Regions from separate parts of the Homo sapiens genome. Here regions 1 and 2 are each linked to region 3. Evidence: promoter capture Hi-C in 16 types of primary human blood cells and fetal thymus (Javierre and others, 2016). All regions are on one chromosome and are shown on one strand. The core of a region is centred on a gene start or on the middle of the fragment in contact, and the rest is flanking DNA. Distances in the headings are between cores, read along the strand shown. Region 1 overlaps TDRKH (tudor and KH domain containing). Region 2 overlaps RORC (RAR related orphan receptor C). Region 3 holds the start of RFX5 (regulatory factor X5).

Region 1 (2,749 bases), core at 29-2,528, 430 kb after region 3:
CGGCTGGATCACGAGGTCAGGAGATCGAGACCATCCTGGCTAACATGGTGAAACCCTGTCTCTACAAAAAATACAAAAAATTAGCTGGGAGTGGTGGCGGGCACCTGTAGTCCCAGCTACTTGGGAGGCTGAGGCAGGAGAATGATGTGAACATGGGAGGCGGAGCTTGCAGTGAGCCAAGATCATGCCACTGCATTCCAGCCTGGGTGACAGAGCCAGACTCTGTCTCAAAAAAAAAAAAAAAAAGGATAATTCAAGTTATACCATGCTGACAATCACCCAGTCAAAAACCCGTATTTCAAGCTAAGTCATCCTTTCTCTAGGGAGAAGTACTCTTCTCTAGAAGGGAAGTAGCTAAAAAGTTTAGTTAGCTAAAAAGTTCCTCTATTTGTTCTTTTAAAAATATACATAGTGGTTGGGCCCAGTGGCTCACACCTGTAATCCCAGCACTCTGGGAGGCCGAGGCAGGCGGATCACCTGAGGTCAGGAGTTCGAGATCAGCCTGGCCAACATGACGAAACCTCGTCTCCACTAAAAATACCAAAAATTCGCTGGGCGTGGTGGCGGGTGCCTGTAATCCCAGCTACTCGGGAGGCTGAGGCAGGAGAATCACTTGAACCCAGGAGGCGGATGTTGCAGTGAGCCGAGATCGTGCCATTGCACTCCAGCCTGGACAACAAGAGCGAAACTCCATCTCAAAAAAAAAAAATATATATATATATATTTTATATATACACACACACATACACACACACACAGAGCATGTGAATGTTTTGTGATATGGGGTCAGTGGAAGGAAACAAGAAATCAATAAACAGAATCAATCCTTGGGAAAGCAGACTGCCTACTCACACACTTACCTGTTTAATATTGGCTCCTTGCCGGCCAATGATGAGTTTCACAGCCTCCTGGGGAACCCGCATCTCTATCTCAATGTCATCTTCCCCAACAAATGTCAGCCGCTCTTCTGCACAGATCATTGTTCATCAGATCAGACTTAGATAACACCCAAAGCTAGTATAACTACCAGTCCTCCCCAGAATCTGGCTGTCAAAGAGACACTGATCCAAGAGATAAAGTGAGGATCTCAACCATAACAACAAGGAAAAGTGGCATCTGAATGGGAATTAGAAGGTCCCAAAGGATCAGAGATGGGCATTTTCTCTGGGACACTGTTTCAGATGCTAAAATGGGAAAAGCAGATTCTGCAATAAACAGGTGCTGGGGTTTGGGCAAACTACTTCTCCCAAGACATGACTACTGGAGAAGAATGAAGGCCAAAAGTTACCTGAGGGGTCCATTAGGCTCAGAACTTCTCCTGACTGATAGGTACATAAGTCATTTCTCTAGGTCCTATTCTCTAGATCCAGCCTTTGAGGTAAGTGCCTTCTACTAACAACTAATTAGAGAAAAGGAATATATAAAAAAGATGAGTATAGAAATTAAAAAAGAACTCTTTGCTGTGTTGATGTTGCTGAAGAAAGCACATCAATGGAGTTATAAAATGAGTTCATTTCATAGACTAGCTTACTTTGCTATGTAAGAACATAGCAAAGACTAGGCCAGGTGCAGTGGCTCATGCCTGTAATCTCAGCACTTTGGGAGGCCGAGGCAGGTGGATCACTTGAGGTCAGCCACCCTGGTGGTGAAACCCCGTCTCTACTAAAAATACAAACATTAGCCAGGAGTGGTGGCACACGCCTGTAATCCCAGCTACTAGGGTGGCTGAGGCAGGAGAACTGCTTGAACTCGGGAGGCAGAGGTTGCAGTGAGCCGAGATTGCTCCACTGCACTCCAGTGTGGGCGACAGAGTGAGACTCTGTCTCAAAGAAAAAAAAAAGACTAAATAATTTTAGTCAAAGATTCCTCACAGAAAGTCAATTAAAATACCTGGGTCAGGCATGGAGGCACATGCCTGTAATCCTAGCACTTTGGGAGGCCGAGGCAGGTGGGTTGCTTGAGCTCAGGAGTTCAAGACCAGCCTGGGCAACATGGGAAAACCCCATCTCTACAAAAAATACAGGCCTGTGGTCCCAGCTACTTGGAGGCTGAGGTGGGAGGATTGCTTGAGCCCAGGAGGTCGACACTACAGTGAGCCAAGATTGTGCCACTGTACGCCAGGCTAGGTGACAGAGTGAGACCCTGTCTCAAAAAAACCCCACAAAAAACCCCAAAACAAAACACACACAATACCTGGCAAGGAAAGAGTTTTTTTCAATTTAACAAGGCAGGAGCATGTCTGAACATTTTCACACACACAGTCATAGGGTTCACGTACCTCTGCTTTCCCTATACCTGCGGTATAGGATATAGGCAACTGTTGCACTGGCTGGGATCCCAAGGCCCAGGGCTATTTTCTGAATGGTGGACAGGCTTGTCCAAGAAGTCCGTTCAGTAGACATTTTCTGCTGTACTCTTTGACTTATATCCTGAAACAAGCAAAGCAGGGAAAAGAGGGAGGTTTCATCCAATCCTTTTATGAATAGCAGAGAGGCATGGGAGCACATTATTACTGAAAAGACTACTACTGCCTACCTTCCAATTTCAAGAGCTTCAGCAATTTCAAAATTTATTTCATATAAAAAGGGCTCAGGGTATTTTTTAAAAGTTAGCTAAGGTACACATAGAATTAAATAGAAGCATACTTCACTTTCCCCACCCAAGTCAGTTTTAAAAGACAAAAAAAATTAAATGAATCAAATATTTGAAATATATATACTTAGATTTCATATTAAATTATTTAAAATTA
Region 2 (2,700 bases), core at 136-2,635, 460 kb after region 3:
TGCCTTTGTGCATGTTGTTCCCCTCTTCCCATTACTAATCCTTACCCTCTAGTGTCACCTCTCCTAAGACTATTTCCCTAACTGCCTCCCATCTGGATTAAGGGCCCTTCTTTTGGGCTTTCCTCTGTGTAGCACTTACTACATTGCAGGAAAATGGTCCAATTTGTCTGCCTTCCCACCCTAGATTTCAGCTCCTTGGCTGAGGTCTCTCTTTCCCTGTCTCCTCTGTACCTATCATAATGCTTAGCACATGGCACATGCTTAATAACTCTTTGAACTAAACAGACTTTCTAAGCAGGCACCTAACACTGCAAGTAGCAAACCAATGCTGCCAGCACTCAGCCAAAGGGGAGATGAAAAAGGCACAGAAACCAGTGAGCAGACGGAGGCAGGGAGACCTCACTGGAGCAAGGCTGAAAGAACAATTTATCTCTTGCAGTCTCCTCTACAACCAAGAGGCTTAAAAATGTCTCTTGCCTGCCATTGCCTCCCTCCCCCAGCTTAGTTTCCTTGGAAAGAGGCAGTCAGAGAAAAGCAGGCAGCAGGGTGTGATCCCTTCATATCTCCTAGATTCTCTCTCTTCCTCACCACTGCTTTATTCTGAGCTTTTTTGGGCTATGGCAATAGCTTCCTTCATTCATTCAACAAATATTTGTTGAGAACACATCTGGATCTGAGCTAGGCACTGTGATGGCCTCTAGTGATATATCAGATATATCAGTCAATAAAGTATAATCTGTACCTTGATTAAATTTACATTCTGGTGAGGGGCCCAGAAAATAAATATGTAGTGTATCAGATAATAAGTTCTTTAAAGAAAACTAAAGCTTTTTGTATGGGGTTACTGGTCAGGAAAAACCTCTCCCGAATGAAGAGATGGGGTAAGCCATTTGGAAAACTGGGGGAAGAACCCTCCAGGTGACTACAATAGCAGGTACAAAAGCCCTGCGACTGGGTTTGATGTGTTCGAGGAATAGCAAGGAAGCAAGTGTGGCTGCAATGGGTGTTTGAAGGGGCAGTGGAAGATCAAGTGAGAAAAGAAGGCAGGGATCATGTTATGAGCCACTTGACCATGACGCAGACTCTAGATTTGATTCTCGGCATCACAGGCAGCTACAGGAGGGCTGAGAACAGGAGTCAAGGCCAGGTGTGGTGGTTCACGCCTGTAATCCCAACACTTTGGGAGGCCAAGGTGGGCAGATCACCTGAGGTCAGGAGTTCGAGACCAGCCTGGCCAACATGGTGAAACCCTGTCTCTACTAAAAATACAAAAATTAGCCGGGCGTGTAATCCCTGTAATCCAAGCTACTCAGGAGGCTGAGGCAGGACAATCGCTTGAACCTGGGAGGTGGAGGTTGCAGTGAGCCGAGATCACACCACTGCACTCCAGCCTGGGCGACAGAGCAAGTCTGCCTCAAAACAAACAAACAGAACAAACAAACAACAACAACAAAAACAAGAAAAAAACCACAGGAGTAGGGCATGATGAGATTGCATTTTTAAAAGGGCTACCGTGGGTGCGGAGTAGGTGTGGTTGCTACAGGGCAGATGAGGGTGGAACAGGGGCTCAGTTAGGAGGCCTCTCTTAAAGTCCAAGTGAAAGCTGAGAGCTGGTAGGGGCCAGGGTGGTGGTAATAGTAGGGAAGGTGATGTATTTTGAAAGCAGATCCAACCGGATGTGCTTTCCAATTGCTCTCCCAGATTCCTGTCTCTCCTCCTTCAAATCCATCCTGTAGCAGATTAAAGTTCAAGTTCTTGAGAGCACAGACCGTGTAAGTCATTGCTGTATCCTTAACACCCAGCCCTGTGCCTGGCACATAGCAAAGGCCTGCTTGAATAATTACATAAATGGTTCCTTTATACTGGTTCCAAAGTAAATTGCCTAAATGACAGCTCTGATTGTGTCATTTTTCTAGCCTTTGGAGCTCCCTGTGGCCTAGAAATAAAGCTTTAACGCTTATATGGCATTGAAAGTCCTCTCTGATTTGCCCCTGACCTAATTTTCAGGCTGATCATCTGGTGCTCTTCTGCCCCACCAGTCTATCCCAGCTCCTGATTTTACACTTTAGTGAGGATGTACCATGAGTGATTCTCCACATACACACTATTTTGCCTCCTTATTTTTCTCCTGTTGTTCTTGGTCTTCATTGTACCCTAGTCCCACACCCAAATCCCATAAAACAATTATCCCCAGCCTCTCATACTCATCTCATCCATTTTTTTGGTTAAACCTCAGGAAAAGGATTTTTTTTCATTTTTTTTGTTTTGCTCCTATTGTTCCCTAAGCCTGGAATGCCTGCCCCACCCCCATGAATGCCTGTTAAAATCTTACATCATTCATGGCCTAGTATAAATGTCATCTTCCCTGGGAAGTATTTATGACCCACTCCTTTTACCCCCAAATTATTTTTAATCCCTGTTTTATACTCTCATAACATTTTCCTGGTGTCACTTATTATAGTTATACATAGGGGACACAGGGATAGAAAGAGCGCAAAGAGCACTGGGATTCAATCTTGCATTTAAGTCACTGAAGTCTCCTGATAGCTACAAGGAGATTTTTTTTTTTTTTTTGAGACAGAGTTTGCTCTTGTTGCCCAGGCTGGAGTGCAATGGCACAATCTTGGCTCACTGCAACATCTGCCTCCCGGTTTCAAGCGATTATCCTGCCTCAGCCTCCCAAGTAGCTGGGTCTACAGG
Region 3 (2,700 bases), core at 1-2,500:
TTTCCCTGTCTCTTTATCTGACTGCTAGGGAGGGAAAAGGACTGAAATGCCCAGCAGGTGCTCAAGAATTGCTACCATGGCCAAAAATCTCCCTCTGCTCCCATGCCCTTGCTGAGAGGCAGTTCATCTACAGCCAAAGTGAAGTGCTGCAGGGATCTATACTCAGGTCTTGGACAGGACTTGGAGATGTGATGAGTACTTACGAAATGGTACCTCGGAGCCTCTGAAGAAGGGTGGTAGGTTCCCCAGCCTCAGCACCACCTGGGGGGGCCCTTCCCCCAGTCTTGGGGCTCTTAGCATCAGGCTCATCTTCTGCCATCCCGGCATGAGGGCTAGAATTGAGAGGGACAGGCATAAAGATGTAACTCACACTGGCCTTCCCTTCCCCAGAAGGCCCCAGGGCACTCCTCATCTCTTTACCCAGAAAGGCAGAGAAACAGAAACAAAGCCTCCGAATTTCCCCGGTGGTCTTTTTCTCACCACTTGCCTTCTCCGAAAATTAGAAATTATTCCATTACTTCGCCAGGCCCATATATGCCCAAAGAGATCTTTGCCATCTCCATTCTATCTGCCCCACCTTTCTGAAGTCTCCTAAATCTGGAAAACTGTAAAGGAAGAGATAGGGGGATTGGGAATCCATGTTAGCAAGAAATTTTCATTTCTGCCTCTGACCCCATACTGCCCTCCTCCCCCTCAAAAACAACAATAACAGCCACAAAACAAAGTTCTCTAATTCTCAAAAATACTCCTCACCATTGCATATGCCTGGGAGGTCAGAAAGGATACGAACATATTCTGCCCTTCTAGGCTTGGAAAAAAAACTGGGCCCAAGTTCTCATTACTTAATCTCGCCACGACTTCCCCCGCTGCTCCCCCTCCCCACGTCGCCGGCCCCTACGTCATCTCCCACAACAGCCCATCCTGAGGCGCGCCCCCACCTCCTTCCCTTCCCCCTCCATTCAATCCCCGGTTTCTGCAAAGTGGAGCGGGGGTGGGGCGGGGTAGCGGAACTCATGCGCTGGGCGTCAGAAACCCGGCAGGGGAATGGGGTCCCAGATTCCGGGCACGTGCACATGGGTGAAGAAGCTGTTGAAAATACAGCTACAATCTTTTTCTGCTCTCCTCCCAACTCATCTTGCCCCTCCCTACCTCTGAACAGTCGCCTTCCAACACAAGCAACAATAAAGGTAAGGGAGAAAGAGAAACTACCTCGTAGCCACCTTCACTCCAGCCCAGCCCCAAGGTCCTGGCCCAGCCGGCTCGTGCGTTGCTTTATTTTCCTTTTTCTGAATGGTTGTAACAGCCGCGATCTGCCTAGATACACGGGCGGCCTGCTCTGTCATTGGTCACTGCTGCCACCCGGAGACAGAAGGCGCCGGGCTCGTACCGGCGGCCGCTGAAGTCTGCCTGGTAACAGAATCTGATTGGTCAATAGGGGAGGGAAAATCCAAAGTTGGTCTTATTTGAGTCAAGAGGGGGAAGTCCGGGTTGGGTTTCGGTTAAAACTGGGGTCGGTTGGGACTGCAGGTCCCAAGAGGTTCTTCTCTTAAAGGGACCGCAGGATGAAAGAACGGGCGCTCGGCTCCCTTTGGAACTGTCTTTTCTTTTGCCCTCCCCTTTTGTGTTTCAGTTTAGTCTACGGTCCTCAGAGCTGCCGGAAGAGAAGAATCAATGGATGATAAAATAACTAGACAATGATGGGTAGGAGTGATGGAAGTTCACTGTAAGCTCCTATAACCCCCCATCACCATCACCACATGCCTAATACAACCTGCAGACACACTTACTCGCAACAGACCTGCAATCTGGGCTCTCTTTTCCTTCTTGATGGAGGCCTCAAAACCTCAGCAGTTGTACCCATTAAACTAAAATGCTTTTTCCCTCTTAGTATTTCTTGGTTTCCCGTGTGTACTTTACTTCCAAAGAGTTGCAAATGCATTTGCATCCCCATAGTTCTGCAGTCGGTGAACCCTGGAATTTTGATGGACTCCCACGGGGGTGCTGGATGCCACAGGAACTTTTTACACTCAGGGAACATTGTACTGAATAGGTCATGGGTTCTTAACCCTCTTACTTAAGACATTTTAAGGTTATGAATCAGACAAAAGCAATGGACCCTCTACCATGAAAAATGCACACAGAGACCAAGTTTTGCATCTAATTTCAGAGAGGTCATGGACTCCAGGTTGAAAGCCTCTTACATGGATGTATTTTGTTTTGCGCAGCGGTCATGTTACAACCAAAACTGTATTTGCCATCCTGACATCTAATATGTTCTCCAGGCTCATCATTAATGTGCTTTTGTAAAGAAGACAGTAGTGCTGCCTGAGCTCATCACCATTGCCCTTTACAGCCTACCTTTCCCTATTATCAGCTTCTATGAGTGCTGGGGGAACCCAGGAGATTGTGGAGTTGGGGCAATAAGGATATATTGGCAAGAGGTTTTCTTTTTTCTTTCTTTCTTTCTTTTTTTTTTTTCTTTGAGACGGAGTCTCGCTCTGTTGCCCAGGCTGGAGTGCAATGGCACGATCTTGGCTCACTGCAACCTCCGCCTCCTGGGTTCAAGCGATTCTCCTGCCTCACCCTCCCGAGTAACTGGGTTTACAGACGTGCATCACCACGCCCAGATAATTTTTGTGTTTTTAGTAGAGACGGAGTTTCACCATGTTGGTCAGGCTGGTCTCAAACTCCTGACTTCAG

What was found. The method cuts DNA at HindIII sites, captures the fragments that hold promoters and counts their contacts. A CHiCAGO score of 5 or more calls a contact.
Region 1: a fragment that was not itself captured here is called in contact with the fragment with the promoter of RFX5 in region 3 in 1 of 17 cell types (M1 macrophages); the score reaches 5.5 in M1 macrophages.
Region 2: a fragment that was not itself captured here is called in contact with the fragment with the promoter of RFX5 in region 3 in 2 of 17 cell types (M1 macrophages and M2 macrophages); the score reaches 5.9 in M1 macrophages.

Annotation. Positions count from the first base shown.
Region 1 is chr1:151,780,621-151,783,369 of GRCh38, forward strand. TDRKH (tudor and KH domain containing) reads right to left here. Exons shown (of 13, transcript NM_001083965.2): 2 at 2,279-2,429; 3 at 861-967. The coding sequence starts at 2,402. Among named protein-coding and RNA genes, the nearest start is that of TDRKH, 8.5 kb to the right of the region's middle. The HindIII fragment of the contact is 4,445 bases long and covers 1-2,749 here.
Region 2 is chr1:151,807,976-151,810,675 of GRCh38, forward strand. All of the region lies in intron 10 of RORC (RAR related orphan receptor C), which reads right to left. Among named protein-coding and RNA genes, the nearest start is that of LINGO4, 3.9 kb to the left of the region's middle. RefSeq lists an enhancer at 871-1,371. The HindIII fragment of the contact is 1,121 bases long and covers 826-1,946 here.
Region 3 is chr1:151,346,002-151,348,701 of GRCh38, forward strand. It overlaps RFX5 (regulatory factor X5), which reads right to left and starts at 1,251. Exons shown (of 11, transcript NM_001025603.2): 1 at 1,210-1,251; 2 at 488-605; 3 at 204-332. The coding sequence starts at 319. It overlaps RFX5-AS1 (RFX5 antisense RNA 1), which reads left to right and starts at 1,009. Exons shown (of 2, transcript NR_131972.1): 1 at 1,009-1,187; 2 at 1,631-1,890. RefSeq lists enhancers at 84-173, 513-1,712, 767-1,349, 1,316-1,665. The HindIII fragment of the contact is 13,633 bases long and covers 1-2,700 here.